6 separate regions of the Homo sapiens genome follow, and regions 1, 2, 3, 5 and 6 are each linked to region 4. Evidence: promoter capture Hi-C in 16 types of primary human blood cells and fetal thymus (Javierre and others, 2016). All regions are on one chromosome and are shown on one strand. Each heading gives the region's core, a stretch centred on a gene start or on the middle of the fragment in contact. The rest is flanking DNA. Distances are from core to core; before and after follow the strand shown. Region 1 overlaps ZHX2 (zinc fingers and homeoboxes 2). Region 2 overlaps ANXA13 (annexin A13). Region 3 overlaps LOC107986904 (a long non-coding RNA gene). Region 4 holds the start of FAM83A-AS1 (FAM83A antisense RNA 1). Region 5 overlaps LOC107986904 (a long non-coding RNA gene). Region 6 overlaps ANXA13 (annexin A13).

Region 1 (3,467 bases), core at 381-2,880, 380 kb after region 4:
TTCGTTCACTTAGCACTAAAATCGTGGGGTAAGTTATGATACTGGTTTCCAAGCATTTTAAGGCATGAAATTCATTTTTTCAAAATGCAATCTAATACCTAATAGCAGTAAGAGTAGAGCTGCTTTGCTTGACATAGGAGCCAGGGTCTGGAAGTCCCCTTACTGTTGGGCCTCCGAGGCATCCTCTCTCAATAGGGCTCCTAGAAGCACACTTTTAAAGTCACACTAGGCTGGGCACGGTGGCTCATACCTGTAATCCCAGCACTTTGGGAGACCAAGGAGGGTGGATCACCTGAAGTTAGGAGTTCAAGACCAGCCTGGCCAACCTGGGGAAACTCTGTCTCTACTAAAAATACAAAAATTAGCCAGGCGTGGTGGCACATGCCTGTAATCCCAGCTACTCGGGAGGCTGAGGCATGAGAATCACTTGAAACCAGGAGTTGGAGGTTGCAGTGAGCCGAGATCGCGCCACCGCACTCCAGCCTGGGTGAGACTGAGACTCTGTCTCTAAATAAATAAATAAATAAATAAATAAATAAATAAAGTCATGCCTGTAGCATCACTGTGTGTCAAGTTCTAATGTCTACCCGCTCTCACCTCACATCTCTGTGTTGCCTGCATCCTATGGGGTCCAGGGATCTTCTTTTGAGAAGTGTCCAAAAGATAACAAAGGCATGAGTGCTCCTTTTTTTTTTTTTTTAAGTGTTTGATTTCAAATGAGGCTCCAAAGGATGTAAGATATGAGATTTATCAAGGCAGGAGGAGAGAAGCCAATAAATTACCCTATTTGCAAATCATTGCTATGGAAGCCAAAGCCCCAACTGTTAAAACAAAGGAGATAAGCCCTTACTATAGCTTAGCCTGCTCACAGAGGAGGCACAGATGCCCACGGAGCTGGCCCAGCCCCCAACAAGCCCCTAGGCACCTCCATTGTATCCCATCCCAGCGCCCAGCAGAACTCTAGTTCCCGTCCATGCAGGGCTGGGCAGCAAGTCAGGAAGCCTGGCAGCTGGTTCCCAGGAGTTGCCAGCAGATCCAAGGACACAAAGAGGGACTCCTGGTCCCTGCAGAACCAGCGCACCCCTCCTCCAGAATCTAGAATTCGCGAGAACATTGCCCACCCCTCACTGCTACCCAGATGTGAACGGCTGTGTGGCTTTCCATGGCGAGGGCTGCACACTCCTTCCTTTCTTTATTTCTGACTCCTCCTGAATCATCACCCTCTGCTGGGTGAGCACAATGTGCAGAGGTTTTAGGGGCTGGGGAAACATCCCTGCTGCTTCCATGTCAGGGAGACATAAAAACACACTAAGAAACCTTTTGGCAGGAGGCTCAAGGCACGGGCCTGTGTGGGCACCTGGCCGTTGGCTTTGATTTGGAAGCCAGGGTGGCTGACCTTTCGGAACCAGAGAGACACCTTTAATATTCGGAGACAGCTGATTTTTATTCTTATTATTTTTAAAGGCTCTAAAGCACCCATAAAACCATCTCGTGGAGTTGAAGCTTCCTTTAGTTTTCCTTCCATTCTTATTCAGCTTATAAAAATGCATAAAATCAGGAGTCATTCTGCCACCCCAAATGCATCCCTCTCTCAGCCCCGTCGTCTGGTGACTATTCTCCGTATCAATCCCAAGACAGCAGCTGAGCTTCCTGCACAATCCGGCATCTCCCCCATCCCCCGCTCCCGCTCCCTTGTCCTGTTCAGTCCTCTTGAATTTTAACTGTCAACTCTCCAGTGACAGACACAGCAAGCTTGAAGGGGAGGGAGGCGGGTGCTATTTATAATTCGGCGGCGTTCACCCTCAGAACACGGCCATTTTTTCCAGGCCGCCTGCCAGAGGCCCACATTCCCCAGGCTCTATATATGGGCTTCTCCACAGGCCCCTGTGGCCATCTCCTCGCCTCTGAGGGGCCCAAGGCAGCCTGGCCAGTCAGAAAGGCAGGGCCAGCTCTGCTCCTCCCTGGCCTGCGAGGAGGCCACAGCCAGCCCCACAGCCTGGACTTCCTCTGGGACAGAGGACAAGAGTCAGGGACCCTGGGGGTACTGATCTGACAGGGACTGGAGAGCAGCCGGCTTTTCCCCCTGGGTTTGAGTAAGAATGGCAAGGAAAAAAAAATGTATTCTTGCTATCAAACATTAGATCACCCCTTCTTTTTGCCAAGTGGTTTTCAATTGTTTCCATCGTGATGTGACTGAGGTCCATGGCAGTCTCGCCAACCCCTGAGAGCTCTGAAAGCTGGATTTATGGACGCCTTTAGCTAGGCAGATGGGAGGGGAGGCCTGGGGAGGGTGGGCAGCCCAGCCAAGGCGAGGGTGTGGGGCTTTGGCCAAGCAGATATTTTCTGCAGGCTCTCAGCTTTGATTAGCATATATTAAGGATACGGGAGAGAAAGGTGTCCGGCCTCTTGTGGGTATTTGGATGTAACCACTTCACTGCCTTCTGGAAGCCAAGCCTGGAGGCAAAGGAAGGGCCTGACCCAGTGGAGTGCCCAGTCTGGGCTCTCGTCAACTTTGTCCTTTCTATGCCGATGCCTGTGGGGCCAGGCTGAGGCCAAAAATGAGCTGGGGTCCCCATGGAGCAGGACACCCCCTCCAATTTCATGCGGGCAATTCTACTTTGGTTTCTTGGATAGTGCCTGGAAAACCTCCTTAGGAACTGACTGCAGTGGAAGCAGATGTGTCCCAGTCTGGCCACTTGAACATCAGGAACACTCTTGTTCCCAGGTAATCTTTTTCTCCTCCTTTCAAACCAAGTTCAAGTCCTTCTTCTAAAAAGCCTTCTATGGCCATCTTTGTATCTCCTCCTGAGGATGGAGAGCATCTACTGTGAGCACGCATGCTGGGAATAACGGTCTGGACTGCTGGCATGCTTACTCTATGCCATGCATTTAGCATGGAGCATCTCATAAGGCTCTGGTGGGAGAGTGCCATTCTGTAGGTGAGGAAACAGAGGTGCAGAGTGGTCAGGCAGCCTGCTCAAGGTGACCTCGTGGGTAGGTGGCAGATCCCGGTCTCACTCCCAGCCTTCCCACTGCAGGCACTGGCTCTTCTCAGTTGCCTGGGGTCTTCATTGTTACTTTGGGTCTAACCACTGTCTTCTCATGCACTGGCCTCCCATCTGGCCTTCAAGAAGGCCTTCAGCTCCTTGCAGATGGAGGCTGAGTCTTAATGCCTTCTCTCTTCGTTCTCTTCTCCCCTGAGCATCTAGAACAAACTAGACCCACAAAAAATCTTCACTCTTGCTGTGGTCCTATGGCTAAGGACGCGGTCTATCTGCGAGCTTGCTGCTGCCTGAGATGGGTTCCTGATTCTCTCCTTTGGCTCCATGGCCTCTGCATACCCCTGAGCAGCCACCATCCTCTATCTGTGGAGGTCCCAACCATCCCTACAGTTACTGGTTTGCCTGTGACAAATATGGGACTGGCACTTCAGCAGGGAAAAGCAGCAGCAGGAGTTGATCAATTCC
Region 2 (3,126 bases), core at 63-2,562, 500 kb before region 4:
AGGTGGAGGTTGCAGTGATCATGCCACTGCGCTCTAGCCTGGGTGACATAGCCAGACCCTGTCTCAAAAAAAAAAAATAATTCCCGACTGCAGAATTCAAATGCTGCAGAACAGTCAGGTACATGCAGGAACCGAGAAGAGGTGCTGCATTGTGCCTCAGCTTCCTCTTCTGTAAAGAAGAGCTTGGACTAGATAGTCTCTAACATTTCCTCCAGCTCCAGAGATTGCTGACTGCTGTGCCTTGATCCCACCGAGCTCGATCACTGGGGTGAGCAGTTCATGGAGGGTGGTCCCTGTGCACACCCTGCATGGATGTGAGGCAGTGCCAGGCGCGTGGTCATTTACATCCCCTGGTGTCCCGGGTTTCCCACGTGCGTGCTTAGGACCACCGCGGACTGGACCCACACTTGGATTCTCGCATTTCATTCTCACAATAGCCTTGTATACTATTACCCTCATCTTAGAGGTGGGAAAACTGAGACTTGGCAAGAAAAATCACTTGCCCAATGTCATGCAGTCGGTACAGGGTGGAGCTGTGATTTGAGTCCAACCTGAATAAATCTAATGTGGGGTTTGATGGTAAAACCGTCTTTCTTATTCGCACACTGGAAATACCTGTGTCATCTTTCCGATCCTGGTTCCTGGTTCAAACAAGGACATTCTCCCCTTCTTTCTTATTCACTATAGTTTTCAGTACTGATCAAATTGCTGCCATGAGCTTGTATTACTTTGAGCATCAGGGGTAAAAAAGCTTCTAAAAATAACATAATCTAAAGGTAATAGGAGTTAAAAGGGGCAACCTCCCTTCATGGTTTCAATCAAGACTTCTCTCCTGAGATTAACAAATGTATGGGTGGGGTTAATATTGTAACAGTTTCAGCCTATATCCTAATCTTGTTCATGCAATTGTAAGCACCCAGAGGCCAAGGAACAGGCCATCTTTTTCCTTTTTGTTTTTTAAAACATTTTAATTGAGATATAATTCATGCACCATATAATTCACCCATTTAAAGTGTTCAATTCAACAGTTTTTATTATACTCACAGATGCATGCAACCACCACCACAGTCAATTTTAGAACATTTTCATCACTTCAAAAAGCAGCCCTGGACTCCAGCTACCATCCCCCTAGGCAGCCCACCCACCCCCAGCCACTAGTATACTTCCAGCCTCTGTATATTCTCCTGTTCCGGACTTTCATACGAATGGAATTATATAACATGTGATCTGCTATGATTGACTTCTTTCACTTAGCATAATGTTCTCAAGGTTCATCCATGTTATAACATCTATCAGTAATTTATTCCTTTTTCTGGCCAAATAACATTCCATTGTATGGATACCCCATATTTTGTTTATTCATCTTCAGGTGATGAACACTGGGGCTGCTTCCACGTTTGAGCTATTATGAGTAATGCTGCTATGAACATTCACATGCAATTGTTGGGTGGACATATGTTTTCATTTCCCTAGGAATAAAATTAAGGAACCAGCCATACTCGTTCCTCTTTCCACCACAATGCCTAGCACTGTGTGCCATGTGCTGTGAGGCCTCAATGGCTATTTGTCTAAGTGAATGAAAAGAATACAGTTTTCAGCACAAGGCATCAAAGCTAAGGGTCCGTTGGGTTCCATAGACACCTCCAACCACCTTTAAGCTGTGAGTCCTGGCTTCCTCACCCTGGACTAAAATAAACTTCCACCTTGTTTCTTATTCACTGTGGCTTTGTTTGTTTCTCCTGTATTTTAGGGACCAATGAAGCAGCCATCATTGAAATCTTATCGGGCAGGACATCAGATGAGAGGCAACAAATCAAGCAAAAGTACAAGGCAACGTACGGCAAGGTGATTCCAGGGGTGGTCAGCAAGCTTGCACCCAGCCATGGCCTCAGCCGTCTCGGCTTCCTCATGTCCCCAGGCCACGCAGAATATCTTTATAGCTTTATTGAGTCAGCCCAGGAGGAAAAGTGAAATAACCACTTAAAAGCATTAATGGAGTTCAGAAAAACTGAAATTGCTTTGTTAACTCAATAGCCTGTAAAATCAATACTCTTAAACTCATTTCTTAAATTGACTTCATTTTTCTATGAAGACCCTAGTCTTTTTTTCACTTAATTGGGACTAACTGTACATATGTAGCTAGATCAGTAATTTGAAAATCAGTTTCCACAAGTGGGTCTTTATACAGGAATTTTTCATAAGCGATTGTTACAGAAAACTACCAAAAAAACTCTCCATTTTATTAAGCTATCAACACCTATTTTTCTTTACATTTTCTTTCTTTTCTTTCATTCTTTTTATTGTTGAAAATAATTTTATAGAGAGAAGTCTTCAAGTATGCATTAGGCTTTCTTATTTCTTTATTAATATGTAATGAACACAACTTAAACTTTTCTTAATGTCATTAGAATTATCATTATGCAAAATGAATATCAATTATTATGCTGTATTCTCATTTATATTTTTCAAACTTTTACCATTTCAATCACTGTAGGTATAAATAGATATATAGAAAGATGAAGATGGGTTTTCCTATTTATTTGATACTGAGCAGGTAACAATTGCTTCAGGCCTTGGTCTTTTCATGGATAGAAAGAAGATGATAACTTAGCTCCCTTCTCAGGTTGCTGGGAGAATCAGTCAGGATAATGCCAGCATGTACCAATACAGGAAAAAGCTATGATAGCTATGATTGTTTCCATTTTACAAAATCACACACCTAAAAAAAAAAAAGAGAACCAGGACTCACATCCAAGTCTCACATCCAAGTCTCCTGACTTCAAGAACAGTATCCATTCCTGGAGGACCCAGTGCCATAAATAGAGCTATTTGCTTGTACACTAAATGGCCCAAATGGCTGTGCTTTTGTGCTTTTTCTGCTTCTCTCCTTACTATTAGGTGCGTCAATGTAATTTTTGATGAAAATAAGTGCATCTTCAGTTCAACTGCATTTAATTGAATGCATGAAGCTGAATGTGTGTGTGGTTTTTTTTGTTGTTGTTGTTTTGTTTTGTTTTGAGACGGAGTCTCACTCTGTTGCCCAGGCTGGAGTGTAGTGGCATAATCTTGGCTCACTGTAACCTCTGCCTCCCGGGTTCAAGCGATTCTCCTGCCTCAGCCTCCTGA
Region 3 (3,244 bases), core at 492-2,991, 470 kb after region 4:
ATAGATACAATAATTGTGGAAATGTAATCTATTTGGAGAGTTTTGGGGTTGGAAATTTAAGACTCAGATACTCAGCAGGCATGACTTTGCCACCAATCAATTCATTATGTGACCTTGGACGAACACCCCAGAATTGCTATACTTTCTTCTATTTCAATATATAAAACTGGGATTGGTAAATACCAGTTAGGAATGTGTTCAGCTACAAATAATGGAACACCTTTTAGGGGTCTATTTTTCTAACACAACTAGTCAAGATGCAGGAAATGTAGAATTGGTGTAATAATCAGAGGATGTTATTTAGGACCCAAGATTCTTCTCTATTCCTGTGATCAGCCTGTGGTTTTGTCCTTATGGTGGCAAGATGGCCGCTGCACCTTCAAATAGGAGGAAGAGGAAGGGTCATAGGTCAAAGGAAATGCTAGCTGAGTCTGTTTCTCCAATTTTTAGGGAAGCAACAGATTTCCTGGAAGATACCCCTCTGCTTCCCAAATAGTCTTCTCCTTACATTTCATCTGCCAGAACTGAAATGTGCCCACCCTAACTGCGAAGGTGTCTGGGGAGGTGATCTTGTTTTCTGGGCATATTGTAGCCCTGAAATTAAGGGCTTATTGGTAAATAATGAAAAATAAATGTTTTATAGGAACCTAACAGCGTCCTTTTCTGTCCCAAAAGGGTAGATGAAAGCTATTATTTATTGGTCTTCTACCAGTTGGCAAGCATTGTGCTAAGCCTTTTCCACCAATTATGTCAAATTTAATTTCTAACACACACACACACACACACACACACACACACACACATATATGGTAAGTGTGAACTTTATTTTATAGAGATGAAGAAACTAAAACTCAAGAGATTAGGTAAATTGCTCAAGGTTACAGAGTGGGATGAATTAAAAATATCTCCTAACTCTACTGGGTTCAGAAAGGCTGGAGGAGGTTTTGAGTTACTTTGAATATTTTCTGTTGGCCTCTTGGGGAGGATCTTAATTTTCTTTTCTTTTCTTTTTTTTTTAACTCTATATGCCTGAAGCAGGGATGGATGTGGGGGTAAGTGTAGAGCTCCCAGAGGCCCAGGGCCTCCCTCTGAATGCCCACTGTGATGCTGAGGGGCTCTGGCCTGTGCTTCCTTAAGGATGCCACCAATCCTTCCTAGATTTCCCAGAGTTGTAGTGGTCTGCCTCCCCTTAAGGGTCCTCCTATGCTTGAGCCAGATCCCTTCCTCACTGTCGGCCCCATTACAAACTTCATGTAGGTCAACTGCGGTGATTTGAGGGAAATGGAGCAGGACTCAACTGCCCCCCAACTCTCAGGAGCAAATAACATAAAGAGCCATGCTGCAAGTAGTCAAGGATGCAGTGTTGAGAGGTGATTGCTGCCTTTGAATCACCCTTTGCCGCTTGTTGGCCATGTGACTTGCCGGTTACTGGATGACTCCTCATCTCAGTTTCCTCATCTGTAAAATGGGCCTTAACAACAGTACCTCTGTCATTGAGTTGTTGAGAGGATGAACACGTGTAAAATACTTACAACAATGCTACCTACCACATAGCTAACACCCGTGAGTGCTTAATCAGTCTTGCTGAATGTCCTCTTTTAGACATCTTTTTGATCTACTCGATTTTATACATTCATTCTTTCGAATCTTGAGAGCCAAATTTCTTGGGTTGTTCTTTTTCTTTTCTTTTCTTTCCCTTTTTTTTTTTTTTTTGAGATGGAGTCTTGCTCTATTGCCCAGGCTGGAGTGCAATGGCACGATCTCAGCTCACTGCAACCTCCGCTTCCTGGGTTCAAGCAATTCTCCCGCCTCAGCCTCCCAAGTAGCTGGGATTATGGGCACCCACCATCACACCCAGCTAATTTTTTTTGTATTTTTATAGAGACGGGGTTTCATCATGTTGGCCAGGCTGGTCTTGAACTTCTGATCTCCAGTGATCCACCCACCTGGGCCTCCCAAAGTGCTGGGATTACAGGCCTGAGCCACTGCACCAGGCCTGGGTTGTTCTTAGGTGACTGTTTGATTTTAGTGAATACTGTACTTGTCAATAATTGCCTTTGGTTCTAGCTGTTAATACAAAACAAGAAAAAGGATAGCTAATATTTGTTGAGCTCTTATTTTTCTGCTTTTCTAAAATACGGGTTAACAGGACAGTATGAGTTGAGCCTCCTAGAGTTGTGCAATATGGTGGCCCTTGCATTAGTCAACTTGGGAGTGATGGGTTGGTAAATAGCAAAGATCACTTTGTTTTCATCACTGTTGAAGCTAAGCCTGCAGTTTTAAATACGCTGTTTTCTTTGGCACCAGTTTTACTTTCTTCCAGGCCCATGAAAGCCTCCTTCAACCTTCAATGTGATGTTCTTCTGTCTTTCCTCAGCATGCAGCCCCTGCCCAGCAAAACACCATCTGGGGACATGAGGCCAAAGCACCCATATTCTGGTCCCACTTCTAGCACTGCCTTGTGCCATGACATGGGGCAAGTCAATCCCCCATTTTGGGCTTCAGCTTCCCCTTCTAAGAGATGATTCCTAGGGCCTCTTCCAGCTCTCCTTATTTTCCGATACTCACTAAAAGACGCTCTATGACTTTGGGAGCACACGGTGCTTGGGAGATTTTGGTTTTGAAGTTTTCCTTCTGAGGATTGCTTTAATTTATTGGGCATCTTGTTGCTGAAAAATACAATCAAGAAAGAAAACACACAAATGCCTTTTCCTTCTACAAATGTGATGCTTAAATAAAATTCAGTTCCATGGAGCAAACACAGGGGAGTATAAATGGATAGGGTTTCTCTTGTCTTTGAGCAGTCCCAGAGGAGGCTGTAAGCAGCAGGATATCCCTTCAACCAGATGGGCTGCCGAGCTTAGAGAGCCAAGCAGTCACAGAGAAGAGAGAAATGACTTGTGGAAATAAGGAAAGGCTGGTTACCGTGATGTCAGTTTATTCTCACAGCTGAATATAGTCAGTCTGGAAGCCAGAAAGAAGATGAAGATTAACTACGCTGAGAGGCTCTCAAACTCGAGCTGATGGGCATGATGTTCCAAGTCACAGTCCAGTGTCTGATAGGAATATGGCCCATTGAGTTAACTTTGGATGTGAGACATCCTTGAGAGCAGGACTAGGCTCAGGAAACATTGACAGGGTTAGATGACACTCCACCCCCCTTTGGTGGTTTTGTCCCATTTTTCTTGGTGCCATGAACAGCTTGGGATATCTACGGTTTCTTGCTGCCTACAGAGCCCTCTCC
Region 4 (3,537 bases), core at 404-2,903:
TTGGTCTATTCATCACCCATTTTCACTTATTTAACTATTTAATTGGTGATTTTAAGTAATATAGTAAGCACTTATGAACCCACTACCTAAAAGAAAAGGTCACATCTTTTTTAAAAATTTTTTCTCTTAAAAAAATTTTTTTGGGGGCAGAGATGGGATCTTGCTATGTTGCCCAGACTGGTCTTGAACTCCTGGCTTCAAGTGATCCTCCCTGCTTGGCCTCCCGAAGTGCTGAGATTACAGGCATGAGCCACCACACCTGGCCAAGGTAGCATCTTGAGGATAGTCCACATCTAGCCATAGGGTCCCTTCTTGCATCCCTTTCCCAGGACCCCTGAACTAGAACTCAGCACATCATGAATCCTGTGATCATAACGCCCTTGCTTTCCTTTTTCCATAATTATAGAATTTTTTTTTGTCCTTTTTTTTTTTTTTTTTGAGTTGGAGTTTCACTCTTGTTGCCCAGGCTGGAGTGCAGTGGCGTGATCTCGGCTCACTGCAACCTCTGCCTCCTGGGTTCAAGCGCTTCTTCTGCCTCAGCCTCCTAAGTAACTGGGGTTACAACAATGCTGGCTAATTTTTTGTTTTGTTTTTTTAACCATATGTTGCCTCTTTGGTGAAACGCCTGCTTATGTCTCCCACCCACTTTTCTGCTGTGCTCTTGTGCTCTTGTGAGTCTCAGCACTAATCTCTGTCAGGGGTGTGCATCTTGAATAGCTGCTTCCAGTTTGTAACTGACTTTTCACTTCCTTTAAGATGTCTTTCTTTTTTTCTTTTCTTTTCTTACTTTTTTTTTTTTTTTTTTTTTTGAGACAGATCTCATTCTGTCCCCCAGGCTGGAGTGCAGTGGCTTGATCTCAGCTCACTGCAACCTCTGCCTCCTGGATTCAAGTGATCCTCCCACCTCAGCCTCCCGAGTAGTTGGGACTACAGGCACGTGCCACCACACTCGGCTAATTTTTGTATTTTTAGTAGAGACAGGATTTTACCATGTTGGCCAGGCTGGTCTTGAACTCTTGACCTCAGGTGATCCACCTTCCTCTGCCTCCCAAGGTGCTGGGATTACAGATGTGAACCACCGCACCCAGCCAAGATGTCTTTCAATGAACCAACATTCTTAATTGTAATATAGTCAGATTAAGCAAACTTTTATGGTCACTGCTTTTTTTTTTTTAATGTGTGTATGTTTTCCTTTTAAAGAAATCTACTGAGAGTTTTAGTTTATTTTCAACATTCAAATTCTTTTCAACTATTGCAAGTCGATTTGTAAACAAATGCGTGCATGGTGGGTAGTAATCCCATTTTACATACGGGGAGTTATTTTTTCCAGTTCCTCCTTTCCCCACTGCTCTGTCATGCCCTGTGGTGTGTGAATATGTGCCTGAGCTTTCTGTTCTGTGTGTCAATTTGTCCCTCCTCCAATGACACATTGTCTTGATTACTGCAGTTTCATGACAAGTTCTGAACTCTGGTAGGGCAAGTCGTCCCTGCTTGTTTTTCTTTTTCGGATTTATCTTGGCTATTCTTGGAAAAGCACATTTAACATCATGACCCACAAGTACATAACCACACAATAATTTCCAGAACATCCTTTACCTCAGCGTGGTCTGATTATTTTTATTCTATTCCGTGTCATTTAAAAAAAATGCTAGACATCATCTACTAAATTGATTTCACACCCCGCTAATGGATGGTGAGGCACAGTTTGAAAAACTGCATTCTTTCAGGACACTGAATGGTCAGAACCCAATGTGCTTTTATTCATTCATTCAACAAATATTTGTGGCCATGTATAATGTATCAGGTGCTGTATTTACTGTACTTCATGCCAGGAAAGCAACAGAGAAGAAAACATACCCAGTCCAGTCCCTGACCTCATGTCATTTACAATCTCGGCTAATCAAGTTCACAAATAAATAATTCCAAATCATGATGGGAGTGAAGCCATAGAGGATAAGAGGGCTCGGGGTGGTGATCAGAGGTCTCTGAGGCAATGATCTGGAAGCTGCCACCTACAAGATAAAGAGTAAGCAAGATAGAGACAGCAGGAATGAGCTCTCCGACGGAGGGCATGAACAGCAAGTGCAAAGGCCCTGCGACTCGAAAGAGCATGAAAGACTGAGGAAGCGGCCAGTGTGGCTCCAACACAGTGGAGGAGTGGGGGGATCCTACTGAGATAGAGGCCCTGGTAAGGATGTAGATTTTTGTTGTTGTTGTTGTTCCTAGGAGCAGTGGCGAGTACTGAAGGATTTTAAAGTGGTTTGATCTGGTTTGTGTTTCTGTTCCTGGGAGAGAAAACCCATGGATGGCAGTGGGGGCGGGGCAGGAGGCCAATTAGAAGCCAGGATGATGTCTTGCTGTTGTTCCCCATCCTGTTCCCAATGCCCAATTTTGCCTGCCTCTTCCCCACCAGGGCTGAATAATTCTCATCCTTCAAGGCCCAACTCCAGCCAATGGCACCGACCTCCTGGACCTGCTAGGCAGAAGTGGTGGCTCCCTCTCAGCTGACCCCAGAGCACTTCCTTAGCTCCTGCTGATCTCAGAGCACACACACCAATCCACTCTGGCCACTCAGCAATTTTTCTTGATGGCCCTGGCATGGCACCTATGCTGGGGTCAGACCCTCAACCAGCCCTTCAGTGTTGAAATGCACAACCTCAGCCCTCTAGCCTCAGCGGAGGAAGCAGGGCTCTTCAGTTTGGGAGAACCATATACAACCAGAAGAAGGGGCCAAAATATCTGAAGCCCCCAGGTAGCGGGGCTAAAAGAAAGGGATAAATGGCCTCTTCTGGTTTTTTTTCTTTGTTTGTTTTTGTTTTTACTGGAAACAACTCTAAGGGGAGACTGGTCCCAGTGAAGATGATCCCCTGAAAGGCTAGTAAGCAGGTCACCTTTGAATGTCAAGGGCAAAATCACTGTTGGTGTCCTGTTCTCCCTCCAGGAGCTGGCTCCTCCACAGCTCTCAGGAATGACAGTAAACACAGACGGCCCTGCATGTATTCCGGCTGTGGCAGCCTTCCTCCTGGGCTGCACATCAGGCTAACAAGCCCAGCCCTCAGCTTCACAGGGATTGGAGAGCTGGTGACCCTAGTCAAGGAAGCTGGTGACCCTGGATCAGTTGCCTCCCCTCTCTGTGCCTAAATCCCCCACCCCACTTCTGTCAATTAGGAGGATGATGCCTTCTTCAAAGTGTTGTCATAAAGATTAAATCCTTATTAAAGTCTGTTTTTGTTTTTGTTTCTGTTTTTTTTTGAGACAGTCTCACTCTGTCGCCCAGGCTGGAGTGCATCTTGGCTCACTACAACTTCCACCTCCCAGGTTCAAGTAATTCTCCTGCCTCACCCTCCCTAGTAGCCAAGATGACAGGCACGTGCCACCACACCAGCTAATTTTTTTTTTGTATATATGTGTATATATATATATATATTTTTTTTTTTTGTTTATTTGTTTGAGACAGAGTCTTGCTCTGTCACCTAGGCTAGAGTGGATCTCGGCTCACTGCAACCTCTGCCTCCCAGGTTCAAGCAATTCTACTGC
Region 5 (3,220 bases), core at 279-2,778, 490 kb after region 4:
TGGAGGATGGTGGCCCTCTTCTCACAGCTCCATTAGGCAGTGCCCAGTAGGGACTCTGAGTGGGGGCTCCGACTCCCCATTTCCCTTCTGCATTGCCCTAGCAGAGGCTCTCCATGAGGGCCCTGTACCTGCAGCAAACTTTTGCCTGGGCATCCAGGCATTTCCATACATCCTCTGAAATCTAGGCAGAGGTCCCCAAACCTCAATTCTGTACTTCTGTGCACCTGCAGTCTCAACACCATGTGGAAGCTGCCAAGGCTAGGGGCTTCCACCCTCTGAAGATGCAGCCTGAGTTCTATGCTGGCTCCTTTCAGCCACGGCTGGAGCGGCTGGGACACAGGTCCCTAGGCTGCACACAGCACAGGGACCCTGGGCCTGGCTCATGAAAGCACTTTTTCCTCCTGGGCCTCTGGGAGGAGGAGGCCTCTGTGATGGGAGGGGCTGCCATGAAGGTCTCTGACATGGCCTGAAGACATTTCTCCATGGTCTTGGGGATTAACATTAGGCTCCTTGCTACTTAGCAAAATTCTGCAGCTGGCTTGAATTTCTCTCCAGAAAATGGGTTTTTCTTTTCTATCTCATAGTCAGGCTGCACATTTTCCAAACTTTTATGCTCTGCTTTCCTTATAAAATAGAATGCCTTTAACAGAACCCAAGTCACCTCTTGAATGCTTTGCTGCTTAAAAATTTCTTCCGCCTGGCTGGGCACGGTGGCTTATGCCTGTGATCCCAGCACTTTGGGAGGCCAAGGCGGGCGGATCACCTGAGGTCGGGAGTTTGAGACCAGCCTGACCAACATGGGGAAACCCCGTCTCTACTGAAAATACAAAGTTAGCTGGGCTTGGTGGTGCATACCTGTAATCCCAACTACTTGGGAGGCTGAGGCAGGAGAATTGCTTGAACTCTAGAGGCAGAGGTTGCGGTGAGCCGAGATTGTGCCATTGCACTACAGCCTGGGCAACAAGAGCAAAAGTCCGTCTCAAAAAAAAAAAAAAAAAAAAGGAAAAAGAAATTTCTTCCACCAGATACCCTAAATTATCTTTCAAAGTTCCACAAATCTCTAGGGCAGAGGCAAAATGCCATCAGTCTCTTTGCTAAAACACAGCAAGAGTTACCTTTACTCCAGTTCCCAACTAGTTTTTCGTGTCCATCTGAGACCACCTTGGCCTGGACCTTATTGTCCATATCGCTATTAGCATTTTGGGCAAAGCCATTCAACGAGTCTGTAGGAGGTTCCAAACTTTCCCACATTTTCCTGTCTTCTTCTGAGCCTTCCAAACTGTTCCAAACTTTGCCTGTTACCCAGTTCCAAAGTCGCTTCCACATTTTTGGGTATCTTTTCAGCAACACCCCATTCTACTGGTACCAGTTTACTGTAGTAGTCTATTTTTATGCTACTGATAAAGACATACCCAAGACTGAGAAGGAAAAATGGTTTAATTGGACTTAGATTTCCACATGACTGGGGAAACCTCGGAATCATGTCGGGAGATGAAAGGCACTTCTTATTACATGGTGGTGGCAAGACAAAATGAGGAAGAAGCAAAAGCGGAAACCCCTGATAAACCCATCAGATCTCATGAGACTTACTAACTGTCACTAGAACAGCATGGGAAAGACTGGCCCCCATGATTCAAGTATCTCTTCCTGGGTCCCTCCCACAACATGTAGGAATTCTGGGAGATACAGTTCAAGTTGAGATTTGGATGGGGACACAGCCAAACCATATCAGAAGCGTTCTTGGACATTGCACCACCAGCAGACGTGATATAGACAATCACCAAGGACTTCAGCTGCTGTAGAACCAGGGCCCCATATATATAGCTCTAACTGAGCCACTCCTGCCATCTCAACCACCATAGCTGAGGGCCTCAGTCACTGTGGAGCAGAGACAAGTTGTCCCTACTATACCCTGACCAAATTATTGACTCCAAAAATTTCAAGCATAATAAAATGATTATGGTTTTATGCTTCTAAGTTTTGGGGTGGTTTATTACAGAAAAATAGATAACTGGAACTCCTGGGGATTTTCCAAGATCCTCCCATGTCATTCTAATAAACAACCATGTTGAGAACCAGTGGTCTATAAAATCAAATACTATGTATCCACAGAGATGAATAAAGAAGGTCTTTTCATTTTGCTGTGGGATGATCTACAAATTTATATTGTTGAGGCCAAAATAGAAAGTTACAAATAATTTTTTATACTATGCTACCATTTGTGTAAAAATGTAAAAATATATAGATATGAATAATGTCTAAAATAATACATTAAAGAGTGGTAAGTAACATTTGTTGGCTCCAGAGAGGGAAACTGGATGGCTGGGGAACAGGGGAAAATTTCTACTCAGTACCTTATGACAGCTTTCAAATGTTAAGACATGTGAATGTACCACTTCAAAAGTAAATAAATTCTGCCTGTTTCTTAACTGGAGAAGTCCAGGTTCTTTATTTTGATATGGCCTCAGTCTTCATTTCCAGGCTTAATATTAATTTGTCTTACTTTATACTAAAAAATAGTTGTAATAAGTAGAGTAATGGCCCTCAAAGATGGCCACATCCTAATTCTTGGAACCTGTGAGTGTTACCTTACACAGAAAAAAGGACTTTGCAGATGGGATTAAGCTAAGGATCTTGAGATGAGGAGATTGTCCTGGATTTTCTGAGTGGGTCTAGTGAAATCATAAGTGTCCTTATAAGTAAAAGAGGGAAGTAGAAGAGTCAGAGTCAGAAAAGGAGATTGGGGTCAGGTGCGGTGGCTCAAGCCTGTTGGGAGGCTGAGGTGGGCAGATCACTTGAGGTCAGGAGTTCGAGACCAGCCTGGCCAACATGGTGAAACCCTGTCTCTGCCAAAACTACAAAAGAAAAAAAAATTAGCTGGGCATAGTGGCACACGTCTGTGATCCCAGGCCTGGGATCTGGAGGCTGAGGCACAAGAATGCCTACTCTGAAGGCTGAGGCATGAGAATCACTTGAACCCAGGAGGTGGAGGTTGCAGTGTGCTGAGATCATGCTACTGTATTCCAGCCTGGGAAGGGGAGCAAGACTCTATCTCAAAAAAGAAAAAAAATAGAAGATTGGAGGATGGGAGTAAAAGTTGGAGTGATGTGATGGCAGACTTAGAATATGGAGGAAGAGGCCATGAGCCAAGATGTGCAGGTGGCCTCTGAAAGCTGGAAAAGGCGAGGAAACAGATTATCCCCTACAGAAAGAACACTGC
Region 6 (3,117 bases), core at 421-2,920, 480 kb before region 4:
TTTTTTTTTTTAAGACACAGTTTCACTCTGTCACCCAGGTTAGAGTGCAGTGGTGCAATCTTGGCTTACTGCAACCTCTGCCTCCCGGGTTCAAGTGGTTCTCATGCCTCAGCTTCTCAAGTAACTGGGATTACCAAGCCTGGCTAATTTTTATGTTATTAGTAGAGACGGAGTTTCACCATGTTGGCCAGGCTGGTCTCGAACTCCTGACCTCAAATGATCCACCCACCTCGGCCTCCCAAAGCGCTGGGATTACAGGTGTGAGCCACCATGCCTGGCTGCAGTGAATAATTTTATTCCACATCTTCTTTGGCTATCCCTGCCCAGCCTTTTGAGAGATTCCTGCTGCTGCTAACAACAGAGGTTGTTCCCCAAGCATAGATTATAGACAGGAGAAATGTTGAGAGTTTTCTTCCTGAAATATCAGGTAGAAGGAATGTCAAGGGAGAAGATCCCTGTGCAGGAGCGGAACACGGTGACTTCAGGCAGACAATGATCCCCACATCAAGCCGTGCTGTATGGAAGAGGATTTTCAGGAAAACTTTGTGGTGCTCATTAGCTCAAATTGTCTGGGGATCACAGTAAGTCTTGAATATGCTACTCCCCAGAATAGCATGCAAGTTTCCCCTGAACCACCAATCCAGCAGCTTTTGGGTTGTTCTCAGGAGAAAGAGGCCAGACATTGTTTCTTTTCCGGTGCGATTTTCTTTTCCACTGAAACTGTGGCAGCTGCCACATGGCCTGTAAAAGGCGGCTGGTCCCCAAACTAGACTCTCCTTCCCGAACTCTGCTCCTCTCCCCTGCTTATAAGCATCAATCACACAGACAGTCCCCTAGACAACAACAGCCCCATTATGGGACATAGTAAGATTGCACATTCCACATTTATGCTGAAATAATCACTTACTGTTAATCACTAACATCATCAAGTGTTCTAGAGAAATGTTAACAGCCTAAAGGGCAAATATTTTTTTTTTCCTCTAACGTGTTAGCCATGATGGATTCATATGAGCCTGGGAAGAGGGGAAGGAATGATTTATTCCCAGGAGAAGAGATGCACCCTGTCACCTGCTTGATGAATAGAGACCACGCTTCATTAAGCTGTAGATAGATCAAAGCTGGAAGGCAAGGGGAAGCCAGGAAAGAGCAAATAGCAGCATCGTAGGAAAGTGATCTTTAAAAAGGATCAAACATTTCATCAAGTCCACATCCCGGATTGCAAACCAAAAGATCGTGGGGAACCTGGAAAAGGTTCAGAGATGAGGCTTGCAAAACAACCCCAGTGAGGAAAAACAAAGAGTAGGGAGGTTGTTGAGCATAGGAGAGCAGGCGGCTGTCCAACTGGATACATTGTCAAGATGATGAAGTTTTGTTCCAGAAGGTTGCTGGCCAATCTGTTTCCCTTCAGAACCCTAGGACAGCACCAGAGATTTCACTCGATAGGGAAAGTTATTTCTGCTGGGAAATAACGAGAATCATGGACGTGGCCGGGAGGGCCCGAGGATGCCACAGCTCTCCTCTAGAGGGTCTTCAGGGGACAGGAGGGGAGCTATGCTTGAAGATTCCAGGTGCTCTGACCAGGGAATCTTCCAAATCTCATTTCGCAACGGTGTCAAGTCAGCTCTTTTCACACCTCTGTCTCACCATCCAGTCAGCTCGAAGGGCAGCCAGGTGACATTTAGGGGGGTCCCAAGGTCATTCCACAAAACGTGAAAGCCTCACATTCTCTTTTCCTTTGTCCTGCCCAGTGAGATGTGCCCAGGATTGTGAGGACTATTTTGCTGAACGTCTGTACAAGTCGATGAAGGGTGCGGGGACCGATGAGGAGACGTTGATTCGCATAGTCGTGACCAGGGCCGAGGTAAGACACACTCCGACTCCAAAGAGGCGGCTGCAACTTCTCTTTTTTCCACCACTGATGTCATCAACAAATAGTTTCTATTAAGGGCCTATTTACAGAAAAAGTAAAACAGAGACGGCCCCTTGCCTTCCCAGAATTTGCAGAAGACATTGTGCTCTGCTTCAATCTGTTTCTTTTTATAAAAATACAATAATGATCGTTGCTTCTTTTTTTGTCCTCTGTGGCTCTGGAGAGCTAGTGGAGGGGCGCAGAGGCAACCATGTCGAGCAGTTCTCAGGGGCTGCAGCTATGCATGGCTCCATGTTAAGGAAGACAAAACAAACACACTTGAAAGAGGTCAACCAGCAGCAGGAACAAAAAGAGAATGATTTCTGAATTCCTGAGTGAGGCCTTTCCTTAACTGAACACACTGCAGAAGCAAGCACATCAGCATAAGGCAATGGTTCTCAATCTTTTTAAAAACTATTGCTGTTCTAAGGAACCTTTTTAGACACGTGTTTCTTCATTGCCATCCCTTCCCCACAAGAAATGTTAACACCAGAGATAATACTACAAATCTGTTTATATACCATGTGGATATCAGTGCTTTATACATAAAAAAATTAAGGGCTTTTTCACCCCCTAAAAACCAATTTGTGCTTGCTCTCGGAGAATGTGTATGTATAAGAAAGAAAAGGGAGAGGAAGAGCCAACGGCTTGGGAGCAGCCGTCAAGATCACAGCTGGTCGGGTGCAATGGCTCATGCCTGTAATCCCAGCACTTTGGGAGGCCGAGGTGGGTGGATCGCCTGAGGTCAGGAGTTCGAGACCGGCCTGGCCAACATGGTGAAACCCCGTCACTACTAAAAATACAAAAATTAGCTGGGCATGGTGGCACACACTTGTAGTCCCAGCTACTCAGGAGGCTGAGGCATGAGAATTGCTTGAACCCAGAAGGTGGAGGTTGCAGTGAGCCAAGATGGTGCCACTACACTCCAGTCTGAGTAACAGAGCGAGACTCGGTCTCAAAAAAAAAAAAAAAAAAAAGGTCACAGCTAACAGTTCGGGATATGGGGCCACAGACAGAAGGTGGTACAAAATAAAGGGGAAGTGGCATTTCATCGGCAGCAGGAGAAGCCTTGGGGAATGAAGTGGAACTAAGCACTTGAAAACCACAGACATCTTCCCTCAAAAAAAAAAAAAAAAAGTGGTTAAATGAAGGGGGAGGTGAAGGGGGAGGGACACCAACCCAAATTCTGATCCATGGCTTCTTAACAA

Evidence for each region. The method cuts DNA at HindIII sites, captures the fragments that hold promoters and counts their contacts. A CHiCAGO score of 5 or more calls a contact.
Region 1: a contact is called between a fragment that was not itself captured here and the fragment with the promoter of FAM83A-AS1 in region 4, in 1 of 17 cell types (total CD4 T cells). The highest score is 5.6, in total CD4 T cells.
Region 2: a contact is called between a fragment that was not itself captured here and the fragment with the promoter of FAM83A-AS1 in region 4, in 2 of 17 cell types (total CD4 T cells and fetal thymus). The highest score is 7.1, in total CD4 T cells.
Region 3: a fragment that was not itself captured here is called in contact with the fragment with the promoter of FAM83A-AS1 in region 4 in 13 of 17 cell types (total CD4 T cells, naive CD4 T cells, activated CD4 T cells and 10 more); the score reaches 11.4 in total CD4 T cells.
Region 5: a fragment that was not itself captured here is called in contact with the fragment with the promoter of FAM83A-AS1 in region 4 in 4 of 17 cell types (total CD4 T cells, total B cells, naive CD4 T cells and 1 more); the score reaches 6.8 in total CD4 T cells.
Region 6: a contact is called between a fragment that was not itself captured here and the fragment with the promoter of FAM83A-AS1 in region 4, in 1 of 17 cell types (naive CD8 T cells). The highest score is 5.8, in naive CD8 T cells.

What each region holds. Positions count from the first base shown.
Region 1 is chr8:122,818,766-122,822,232 of GRCh38, reverse strand. The region is part of intron 1 of ZHX2 (zinc fingers and homeoboxes 2); the gene reads right to left. Among named protein-coding and RNA genes, the nearest start is that of ZHX2, 39 kb to the right of the region's middle. The HindIII fragment of the contact is 249 bases long and covers 1,506-1,754 here.
Region 2 is chr8:123,701,361-123,704,486 of GRCh38, reverse strand. It overlaps ANXA13 (annexin A13), which reads left to right. Exons shown (of 11, transcript NM_004306.4): 3 at 1,751-1,845. Among named protein-coding and RNA genes, the nearest start is that of ANXA13, 34 kb to the left of the region's middle. The HindIII fragment of the contact is 1,118 bases long and covers 754-1,871 here.
Region 3 is chr8:122,727,678-122,730,921 of GRCh38, reverse strand. The region is part of intron 1 of LOC107986904 (a long non-coding RNA gene); the gene reads left to right. Among named protein-coding and RNA genes, the nearest start is that of LINC01151, 35 kb to the right of the region's middle. The HindIII fragment of the contact is 3,615 bases long and covers 1-3,244 here.
Region 4 is chr8:123,200,859-123,204,395 of GRCh38, reverse strand. FAM83A-AS1 (FAM83A antisense RNA 1) reads left to right here and starts at 1,653. Exons shown (of 3, transcript NR_024479.1): 1 at 1,653-2,188; 2 at 2,414-2,752; 3 at 2,942-3,224. The region is part of intron 3 of FAM83A (family with sequence similarity 83 member A); the gene reads right to left. The HindIII fragment of the contact is 13,090 bases long and covers 1-3,537 here.
Region 5 is chr8:122,709,651-122,712,870 of GRCh38, reverse strand. The region is part of intron 1 of LOC107986904 (a long non-coding RNA gene); the gene reads left to right. Among named protein-coding and RNA genes, the nearest start is that of LINC01151, 17 kb to the right of the region's middle. The HindIII fragment of the contact is 5,357 bases long and covers 1-3,220 here.
Region 6 is chr8:123,683,354-123,686,470 of GRCh38, reverse strand. It overlaps ANXA13 (annexin A13), which reads left to right. Exons shown (of 11, transcript NM_004306.4): 10 at 1,749-1,861. Among named protein-coding and RNA genes, the nearest start is that of KLHL38, 31 kb to the right of the region's middle. The HindIII fragment of the contact is 5,117 bases long and covers 1-3,117 here.